Regions from separate parts of the Homo sapiens genome. Here all the other regions are linked to region 1. The links are contacts of gene promoters, found by promoter capture Hi-C in human tissues and cell types (Jung and others, 2019). All regions are on one chromosome and are shown on one strand. The core of a region is centred on a gene start or on the middle of the fragment in contact, and the rest is flanking DNA. Distances in the headings are between cores, read along the strand shown. Region 1 holds the start of L3MBTL4 (L3MBTL histone methyl-lysine binding protein 4). Region 2 has its middle 46 kb from the start of LINC01387. Region 3 overlaps L3MBTL4 (L3MBTL histone methyl-lysine binding protein 4). Region 4 overlaps L3MBTL4 (L3MBTL histone methyl-lysine binding protein 4).

What was found. The method cuts DNA at HindIII sites, captures the fragments that hold promoters and counts their contacts. A contact is called where the count stands out against the background at its distance.
Region 2: a fragment that was not itself captured here is called in contact with the fragment with the promoter of L3MBTL4 in region 1 in 1 of the 25 tissues and cell types used here (bladder).
Region 3: a fragment that was not itself captured here is called in contact with the fragment with the promoter of L3MBTL4 in region 1 in 1 of the 25 tissues and cell types used here (bladder).
Region 4: a contact is called between a fragment that was not itself captured here and the fragment with the promoter of L3MBTL4 in region 1, in 1 of the 25 tissues and cell types used here (mesenchymal stem cells).

The regions. Positions count from the first base shown.
Region 1 is chr18:6,413,506-6,416,205 of GRCh38, reverse strand. L3MBTL4 (L3MBTL histone methyl-lysine binding protein 4) reads left to right here and starts at 1,295. Exons shown (of 19, transcript NM_001330559.2): 1 at 1,295-1,405. RefSeq lists a silencer at 1,253-1,792. The HindIII fragment of the contact is 7,728 bases long and covers 1-2,700 here.
Region 2 is chr18:6,464,402-6,467,101 of GRCh38, reverse strand. No RefSeq gene overlaps it. Among named protein-coding and RNA genes, the nearest start is that of LINC01387, 46 kb to the left of the region's middle. The HindIII fragment of the contact is 4,008 bases long and covers 1-2,700 here.
Region 3 is chr18:6,378,845-6,381,544 of GRCh38, reverse strand. All of the region lies in intron 1 of L3MBTL4 (L3MBTL histone methyl-lysine binding protein 4), which reads left to right. Among named protein-coding and RNA genes, the nearest start is that of MIR4317, 5.8 kb to the right of the region's middle. The HindIII fragment of the contact is 3,782 bases long and covers 1-2,700 here.
Region 4 is chr18:6,349,872-6,352,571 of GRCh38, reverse strand. All of the region lies in intron 1 of L3MBTL4 (L3MBTL histone methyl-lysine binding protein 4), which reads left to right. Among named protein-coding and RNA genes, the nearest start is that of MIR4317, 23 kb to the left of the region's middle. The HindIII fragment of the contact is 5,033 bases long and covers 1-2,700 here.

The DNA.
Region 1 (2,700 bases), core at 46-2,545:
GGTACTATCTCAGCTCACTGGAGCCTCTGCCTCCCAGGTTCAAGCGATTCTAGTGTCTCAGCCTCCCGAGTAGTTGAGATTACAGGCGCCCGCCACCACACCCAGCTAATTTCGTATTTTTAGTAGAGACAGGGTTTCACCATGTTGGCCAGGCTGGTCTCGAACTCCTGACCTCAAGTGATCCGCCCTCTTCGGCCTCCCAAAGTGCTGGGATTACAGATGTGAGCCGCCATACCTGGCTAATATATTTTTCTTAACTGACTAGAGCACAGAACACAAATCGTGTGTTTGCACTTACAAATTTCTATGATCATTGTTCCTAGTTTAAAAACTTCATTAGCAAAGGGGTTTATATTTCTCTTTTCAGTAAGGACACGAAATTATGTTTCAACAATGCCCAGTCTCACCTAAAAAGCAAGTTTTCATTCTCTGTTTATGGTAGCCCACGACAAACCAAAAAGATCATTTTGGATGGTATCATTGTTAATCCTGCTAAATGATTCAATTTCCTGCTGAAAGCAACAAACTAATACTTATTTAGTACCTACTATTTATTATTTGCATACTAGGGTTTATACACAAGGCGTCCTATGAAAGAACATTTCATTCAAAAGTCACAACATATAGTCTTCAATTATCAGCTACCTTTATTTGTAAGCCAAAATAAATGATTTAATACAGTCCTCCCAAACTGGGAGACAATGCTTTGAGAAAGGCCAAAGCTAGCCAGTAAGGCCATAAGTTCCATGAGGGCAGGATCTACCCAGCTCCTGTTTCCTGCTCAATTCCAAGCAGTTAGAACAGGGTCAGTAAACACTGCTTGCCACTTGGAAAGAGTATTCTTTTATTTGGAAATGGTATCCAGGTACTCGTGAGTAGCAAAGTCAAGAGCAGGAAAGGGGAGTGGGGGAGGTTGCAAAATCGGAGCGAGCAGCAGGACCGAGAGGGATCCGGAGGAGAGAGCCTTCAGACGGTGAACCCCAAGAGCTGGGATGAAGCATGGGTGAGCTACTGGGACTTCGCTGCCAGGGAGCAAGCTGGCAGGCAGGAAGTAGCCAAGATTTGGGGGAATCCTTCCCAGGGAACGAATACAGAGAAGGACGCATCTGAAAATTCCGCCGCAGCCACCTCCCTCCCATGGGAAAGCCCCGACCTCGGCGGGCCCAGCGCCACCCGGCTCCCCGGGGTGTGGAACACTGAGCGAGGCAGGTGCGGCGGGAGCATGCGCGCGGGGCGGGCAGGGGGCGGCTCCCGCGCCCCCACCCCGCGCGTGCACCCTCGCGCCCCTCCCGCCGGGCACCGCGGGGCAGCGGCGCCGCAGCCTGGGCTGGCGGAACCTCGCGCTCCGACTCGCCCCCCGCCTGTAGCTCGGTCGGCGTTGCGGGCAGGCGCCGCTCCGCTGGGGGTAAGAAGGACGCCGCCGCCCGCGTGGGATGGTCGCGAGCCCGCGTGGGTGCCCACGGCCGCCGCCGCGCGGGGTGGCCCCATCCCCGGGCAGGTAGAGGGGCCTGCACGACTCCCGCGGCGAGGGCCGGGCCGGTGGGGGCGGTGGCGGTTGGGGATAGCCCCGGTCCCGGCCCAGGCTCTTTCTCTTTCTCTTTCGCCGCCGGGGCGCGCGCCGGGCTCCCCGCGAGAGGCGCTGCCTCACTTGTCGCCTACTTTGGACGGGCGCGGCCGCCGCAGAGCCCGGCGCCTCGGTCAGCCGCGAGGGCAGGGTCGGGGTGCCAGGCGCGGCTACCTGGGCGCCCTGGAGCCAGCGCAGCCTGGGACCGGGGGAGCGGGACGGGACGGGACTCCTGAGGGCCCCCAGGCAGTCCTCCGGCCATCGAGCGCCCGGCGGTGGGCATTTGGCTTTTGTTTCCTCTGGGGCTAACGCCCCCGTCTGCCCGCGTGTCCCCCTCAGCCGACAAGTGTCGTGTGCCCGGACGGGCGAGCGCTGCCTCCCTCCACCCGCTTTCTGCCCTTGTCTTCCTCTGCGAGTTCTGCCCAGCCTCGGGAGCGGGAGCCCAGGGAGTGCGCGCAGGGCGGGCGGGCGCCTGGCCAGCCTGGGACGGCGGCTCTCAGGCTCCTGCCACCGCCTGGAACTGCGGGGGGCGCGCCGGCCACAGTCGCCCTCGCCTGCTCTCCGGGCCTTCTTGGGCCCGCTTGGTCCCAGGTGGACGCGAGTCGAGCTGGGCACACCTGGGCCAGCGCCGCACTTACCTGCGGGATTGGTGAGAGCGTTTTCGCGAGGTCGCAAATTCCGGGTGGGTATTGTCCCCTGCTTTTGATCTCCCTTAGTCACTGGTTAAAGTGCGAAGTGTGCTTTATCTTACATATGCCTTTAGAGGGACATTCTTAATGCGCCAATGCCCCGAGGTGGAACTAAATAAAGGGAAGGCCTGGTCATTGTTACTGTTGAGACTGCTGTACTTAACAGTCAGAGGAAGGCAGCTGGTCACCACGACCCACTCGGCCATTCCCATGCTGAAGACTCGCTCTCACTTCACACTTGTTTGGACTCCACTATGACTTGCTGGTGGCCCATCTCCTGGATCCTTCTGTTGGAGCTGTTCTAGAAGATGCTTGTGGCAGGCTCCAGTTTCAGTCCTTGGCTGAAATAAGTGTAGTGTGGCTCTTCGGTTTTCTAATCTATTCCACCTAAAAAGGTTAAGGTGACAAACAGGTGGTGGGTACAGTAGAGTTGTTTTTGGCCCTTGG
Region 2 (2,700 bases), core at 1-2,500, 51 kb before region 1:
CTCAGAATGCAAGAATTGTTCAAGATAAAATCAATCAATGCAACATAGCATGTTAAGGAAAAAAAACATAATAATATAAATAGGTACAAAAAAATTGGACAAAATGTAACACCCTCTCATGATAAAAACAGTAAACTAGGAATCGAAAGGAATTTCATCAATATCATGTGTAAATCTCACAGCTAATGGTGAGCCAATTCAATGGTGAGTGAATGAAAATGGGTTGGGGGCATCCGTGTCAGAAAGGAAGAAATAAAATATCTATCTTTACAGATGATACGAAGTTAAAAAAAAAAAAACAAAAAACTATTAGAGTTAAATGAACTCAGCAAAGTTACAGGGTACAGAATCAATACTCAAAAATCTGTTGTATTTCTAAACACTAGCAATTAACAATTTTAAAAGGAAATTAAGAAAACCATTTCACTTACAATAAGCATCAAAAAGAATAAAATACCCGGGGGTAAATTTAACCAACGAGACAGATAAAAACATTAAAAACTCTTGTGTGGGCCGGGCGCAGTGGCTCATGCCTGTAATCTCAGCACTTTCGTAGGCTGAGACGGGCGGGTCGCGAGGTCAGGAGATGGAGACCATCCTGGCTAACATGGTGAAACCCCGTCTCTACTAAAAACACAAAAAAATTAGCAGGGCGTGGTGGCGGGCGCCTGTAGTCCCAGCTACTCGGGAGGCTGAGGCAGGAGAATGACGTGAACTCGGGAGGCAGAGCTTGCAGTGAGCCGAGATCGCGCCACTGCACTCCAGCCTGGACTACAGAGTGAGACTCTGTCTCAAAAAACAAAACAAAACAAAACAAAACTAACCCAAAAAAACACAAAACACAAAACGCAAACACACACACACACACGTGTGTGTTAAAAACACTGAAAACACTGCTGATTGGCCGGGAACGGTGGCTCATGCCTGCAATTCCAGCACTTTGGAAGGCTGAGGAAGGCGGATCACCGAGGTCAGGAGTTCAAGACCAGCCTGGCCAACATGGCAAAACCCTTCTCTAATAAAAATACAAAAATTATCTGGGCATAGTGGCGTGTGCCTGTAGTCCTAGCTACTCGGAGGCTGAGGCAGGAGAATCACTTGAACCTGGAAGGCAGAGGTTGCAGTGAGCCCAGATCATGCCACTGAACTCCATCTTGGGTGACAGAGCAGGACTCTGTCTCAAAAACCAAACCAAACCAAACCAAAACAAAACCACTGCTGGTAGAAATTAAAGAAGAGTTAAATGGATGGAAAGAAATCCTATATTCATGGATTAGAAGACCAATCCATGATCAATAAGCACATGAAATGATGCTCAACATCATTAGTGATCAAGATGATGTAAATCCAACCAAGATGATGTAAATCCAAACCACATGAGATACCACATCATACTCATAATGATGACTTTTTTTAAAATAGGAAATAACAAATGTTAGCCAGCATATAGAGAGATGGGAAGCCTCATGCATTATTGGTGGAAATATAATATGGTGCAGTGCTATGAAAAACAATCTGTTCGTTCCTCAAAAAGTTAAAGATGGAATTATTATATAATCTGCAATTCCAGTTCTATGAAAATACATTAAAAATTGAAAACATGGACTTGAACAGATATTGCACAACACATATAAGTTAATCATGGAATTATCATATAATCCAGTAATTCCACTCCTAGGTAAATACATAAAAGAATTAAAAACTGTACTTGAACAGATATTGCACACCACATAGCAGCATTATTTACAATACCTAAAAGGTGGAAGCAATAAAAGCCTATTGGTGAATGAATGAATATACAAAATCTGGTATATACATATAATGGAATATTATTCAATCATGAAAAGGAATGAGGTTCTGATGCATACTATGACATGGATGAACTTTGAAAATACAATGCCATGTATGATTCCACTTATATGAGGAGTCTAGAATATGTAAATTCATAGAGACAGAAGGTAGAATAGAGGTTACTAGGGGCTGTTTGGAGAGAGGATTGGGGAGTTATTGTTAACTGGATACATACTTTCTCTTTGAGATTATGAAAAAGTTTGAAAATAATAGTGATAATTACACAACATTAGGAATGTACTTAATGTCACTGAATTGTAAACATAAAATAATCAATATGATAAATTTTATTTTGTGTATATTTTACCACAATTAAAAAGTTACCAAACAAACGAACAGCTACATCCCACAGCCGGCAGAAAAACAAACCCTGAAGAGCTGAAGCATAAGATTTCCAGAGTTATTACATTATAATATTCAGAATAGCCAATTTTCTGTAAAAATTATGAAGCATGCAAAGGAACAAGAAAATATGGCCCTTTCACAGAAGAAATTTGCAGAAATTTTACATGAAGAAGTACAGATGTTGGATTCACTAGACAAAGACAAATCAACTGTCTTACATATGCTCAAGGAGCTAAAGGAGAACAGAAGAGTTATTCATGAGCAAATAGTGAAAATTAATGAGGAGAAAGAAGTTACAAACAAGAGCTAAACAGAAATTCGCAGCCAGAAAAGTACAATAACTGAAATAAAATTCACTAAAGGGTTTCAATGGAAAATATAAGCAGAAGAAATAAAGAATCAGAGAACTTGAAGATAGGCTAATTGAAACTTATGCAGCCTGAGGTACAGAAGGAGAAAGAATAAAGAAAAATGAATGAAGACTAAGAGGTCTGTGGAACACAA
Region 3 (2,700 bases), core at 48-2,547, 35 kb after region 1:
GAGAGATTTTGTCACCACCAGGCCTGCCTGGCAAGAGCTCCTGAAGGAAGCACTAAACATGGAAAGGAACAACCGGTACCAACCACAGCAAAAACATAACAAATTGTATAGACCATTGACACTATGAAGAAACTGCTTCAACTAATGGGCAAAATAACCAGCTAGCATCATAGTGAAAGAATCAAATTCACACATAAGAATATTAACCTTAAATGTAAATGGGCTAAATGCCCCAATTAAAAGACACAGGCTGGCAAATTGGATAAAGAGTCAAGACCCATCAGTGTGCTGTATTCAGGAGGCCCATCTCATGTGCAAAGACACACATAGGCTCCAAATAAAGGGATGGAGTAATATTTACCAAGCAAATGGAAAGAAAAAAAATTAAAAATAAAAAAAGCAGGAGTTGCAATCCTAATCTCTGGTAAAACAGACTTTAAACCAACAAAGATCAAAAGAGACAAAGAAGGCCATTACATAATGGTAAAGGGATCAATGCAACAAGAAGAGCTAAGTATCCTAAATATATATGCACCCCATACAGTAGCACCCAGATGCATAAAGCAAGTTCTTAGAGATCTATGAAGAGACTTAGACTCCCACACAATAATAGTGGGAGACTTTAACACCTCACTGTCAATATTAGACAGATCAACAAGACAGAAAATTAACAAGGATATTCAGGACTTGAACTCAGCTCTGGACCAAGTGGACCTAATAGACATCTACAGAACTCTCCACCCCAAATCAACAGAATATACATTATTCTCAGCACCTCGTCGCACTTATTCTAAAATTGACCGTATAATTGGAAGTAAAACATTCCTTAGCAAATGCAAAAGAATGGGAAGCATAATAAACTGTCTCTCAGACCACAGTGCAATCAAATTAGAACTCAGGATTAAGAAACTCACTTAAAACCGCACAACTACATGGAAACTGAACAACCTGCTCCCGAATGACTACTGGGTAAATAATGAAATGAAGGCAGAAATAAAGATGTTCTTTGAAACCAATGAGAACAACAACACAATGTACCAGAATCTCTGGGACACATTTAAAGCAGTGTGTAGAGGGAAATGTATAGCACTAAATGCCCACAAGGGAAAGCAGAAAAGATCTAAAATTGACACCCTAACATCAAAATTAAAAGAACTAGAGAAGCAAGAGCAAACAAATTCAAAAGGTAGCAGAAGACAAGAAATAATGAAGATTAGAGCAGAACTGAAGGAGATAGAGACACGAAAAACCCTTCAAAAAATCAATGAATCCAGGAGTTGGTTTTTTGAAAAGATCAACAAAATAGATAGACTGCTAGCCAGACTAATAAAGAAGACAAGAGAGAAGAATCAAATAGACACAATAAAAATGATATAGGGAATATCACCACTGATCCCACAGAAATACAAACTGCCATCAGAGAATATCATGAACACCTCTACGCAAATAAACTAGAAAATCTAGAAGAGATGGATAAATTCCTGCACATATACACCCTCCCAAGACTAAACCAGGAAGAAGTCGAATCCCTAAAGAGACCAATAACAAATTCTGAAATTGAGGCAGTAATTAATAGCCTACCAACCAAAAAAAGTCCAGGACCAGACGGATTCACAGCTGAATTCTACCAGAGGTACAAGGAGGAGCTGGTACCATTCCTTCTGAAACGATTCCAATCAATAGAAAAAGAGAGAATCCTCCCTAACTCATTTTATGAGGCCAGCATCATTCCGATACCAAAACCTGGCAGAGACAAAACAGAAAAAGAAATTTTCATTCCAATATCCCTGATGAACATTGATGCAAAAATCCTCAATAAAATACTGGCAAAACGAATCCTGCAGCACATCGAAAAGCTTATCCACCACGATCAAGTCGGCTTCATATCTGGGATGCAAGGCTGGTTCAACATATGCAAATCAATAAATGTAATCCATCACATAAACAGAACCAATGACAAAAACCACATGATTATCTCAATAGATGCAGAAAAGGCCTTGGACAAAATTCAACTTGCCTTCATGCTAAAAACTTTCAATAAACTAGGTATCGATGGAACATATATCAAAATAATAAGAGCTATGTATGACAAACCCACAGCCAATATCATACTGAATGGGCAAAAACTGGAACATTTCCTTTGAAAACTGGCACAAGACAAGGATGCCCTATCTCACCACTCCTATTCAACATAGTATTGGAAGTTCTGGCCAGGGCAATGAGGAAAGAGAAAGAAATAAAGGCTATTCAAATAGGAAAAGAGGAAGTCAAATTGTCCCTGTTTGCAGATAACATGATTGTGTATTTAGAAAACCCCATGATCTCAGCCCAAAATCTCCTTAAGCTGATAAGCAACTTCAGTAAAGTCTCAGGATAAAAAATCAATGTGCAAAAATCACAAGCATTCCTATACAACAATAACAGACAAACAGAGCCAAATCATGAGTGAACTCTTATTCACAATTGCTAGTAAGAGAAGAAAATACCTAGGAATACAACTTACAAGGGATGTGAAGGATCTCTTCAAGGAGAACTACAAACCACTGCTCAAGGAAATAAGAGAGGACACAAGTAAATGGAAAAGCATTCTATGCTCATGGATAGGAAGAATCAATACCGTGAAAATGGTGATACTGCCCAAAATAATTTATAGATTCAATGCTATCCCCATCAAGCTACCATTGACTTTCTTCACGGAAT
Region 4 (2,700 bases), core at 61-2,560, 64 kb after region 1:
TGGCAGTGACAAATAGTCACAATAAAGTTCATAGTAATCTCATCAACCACTTTTTATTTTTCCTCTAGATCAGAAGATAGAGCATGTGATATGGAAGTTTTCTTAGCTACCATGAGAATATTTACCATCTCCTTTTATCATAATAGGCTCTCAATAAATTTTGAATGACTAAAGGTAAATATTTATAATTTATTGAGAGCCTTCTGTGGAATGGACTGTTCTAAGTGAATGCATTAATTTATAGATCTAAACTCAGCCAAAAGATTCAGCTCATAAAGATGAGGAGATTGGGTTTGTAGAAGAGGAGGTAATTACTTTGAGGTGAAATGATCATGATGTGTTGGGATCTTTGGTTGTGTCTTTTAAGTGGCTAGGTGCTCCAGATTTTAAAAGATTTGGCAGAGAATGCTGAGAGTGACCACATTTTGAGTAATTACTAGCAGTGAGAAGGGAGAGAAGCAAAAAAATTTAAACCCACCTGTCTTTCCTTCTTGGCAGGGGGAAATTCACTTATAGTAGCAGCTATTAGTATAATACCCAGAAAATAATATAAGCACAATAAACTTTTTATAAAGAAATCAACTTTTGACTTGAGTGGTGGCTCATGCCTGTCATCCCAGCACTTTGTGGGGCTGAGGCAGGAGGATTGCTTGAGGCCAGGAGTTTGAGACCAGCATGGGCAACATATTGAGACCCTGTCTCTTAAAAAAATCAACATTTAGGCTGGGCGCGGTTGCTCACGCCTGTAATCCCAGCACTTTGGGAGGCTGAGGCGGGCGGATCACGAGGTCAGGAGATTGAGACCATCCTGGCTAACATGGTGAAACCCCGTCTCTACTAAAAATACAAAAAATTAGCCGGGGGTGGTGGCAGGCGCCTGTGGTCCCAGCTACTCGGGAGGCTGAGGCAGGAGAATGGCGTGAACCCGGGAGGCGGAGCTTGCAGTGAGCCGAGATCACGCCACTGCACTCCAGCCTGGGCGACAGAGCGAGACTCCATCTCAAAAAAAAAAATAAAAAATCCACATTTAAAAATTGCGGTATAATATACATAATACAAAATTTACTTAACCATTTTCAGTGATCACTCAGTGGCATTAAGCACATTCACATTGTTGTGCAGCCACCACTACCATCCACCTCCAGAACTTTTTTGTCATCCCAAACTGCAATTCTGTATTCAGTAAACAATCAATCCCCATTGCCTTCTCCCCCAGACCCTGGTAGCTACCATTCTACTTTCCGTCTTTATGAATTTGACAATTCTAGGTACCTCATATAAGTGGAATAATACAATATTTGTTCTTTAGTATCTGGCTTATTTTGCTTAGCATAATGTTTTCAAGATTCATTTATGTTGTAGTATGCGCTTTTTTCGAGATGGAGTCTCGCTGCATCTCCCAGGCTGGAGTGCAGTGGCGTGATTTTGGCTCACTGCAACCTCCGCCTCCCTCGTTCAAGTGATTCTTCTGCCTCAGCCTCTTGAGTAGCTGGGATTACAGGTGCGTGCCACCACACTTGGCTAATTTTTAAAAATATTTTTAGGAGAGATGGGGTTTCACCATGTTGGCTAGGCTGGTCTTGAACTCCTGACCTCAGGTGATCTGTCCGCTTTAGCCTCCCAAAGTGCTGGGATTTCAGGCATGAGCCACTGTGCCTGGCCTAGAATTTCATTTTTTAAGGCTGAATAATATTCCATTGTATGTTTATACTACATTTTCTTTATCGATTCATCCATAATGGACATGTAGGTTGTTTCTACTCTTTGGCTATTGTGAATAATGTTGCCATTTACATTGGTGCACTAATTTCTGTTTGGGTCCCTGCTTTCACTTCTTTTCAGTTTATACCTAGAAGTGAAATTGCTATGTCATATGGTAACTCTATGCTTTATTATTTTAGGAACCACCATACCGTTTTCTATAGTGGCTGTACCATTTTACATTCCCACTTGCAATGCACAGGGTATTCACTTCTCCACATCTTTATCAACACTTTTTGTTTTCCGTTTTTTTTTTTCTTTTTTATATTAGCCATCCTATGTGTAAAGTGGTATCTCATTGTGGTTTTGATTTGTATTTTTTCATGATTATTGGCTATTAGAATATCCTCTTTGGAGAAATGTCTGTTCAAGTTCTTTGCCCATTTTTCAACTGAGTCATTTGTATTTTGTTGTTGAGATTATGAGTTCTTTATATATTCTGGATATTAATCCCTTATGAGATACATGATTTGCAAATATTTTCTCCCATTCGGTGGATTGCCTTCCACTCTCTTGGTATTGTTCTCTTATGCACAAACGTTTTCAGCTTTGATGGAGTCAAATTTATTTACTTATTCTTTGGTTGCTTGCGTTTTTGACATCATTGTTGTTGCCAAATCCAATGCCGTGAGGGTTTTCACTTATGTTTTCTTCTAGGAGTTTTATAGTTTCAGCTATTATGTTTAGGTCTTTTGTTCATTTTAAACTAATTTTTGTATATGGTGTAAGGTAAAGGACCAGCTCCATTATTTTGCATGTGAATATCCAGTTTTCTCAATGCCATTTGTGGACTCAAACTTAAGTAAGCTTTTTATTAAACTATGACATACACAAATGTATGTATAATGTAAGAATACAGTGTAGTGGATTTTATTTATTTTTTTTATGAAGTGAACACATCTGGAAAACCAGCATTCAGATCAAGAAACATTACATTAG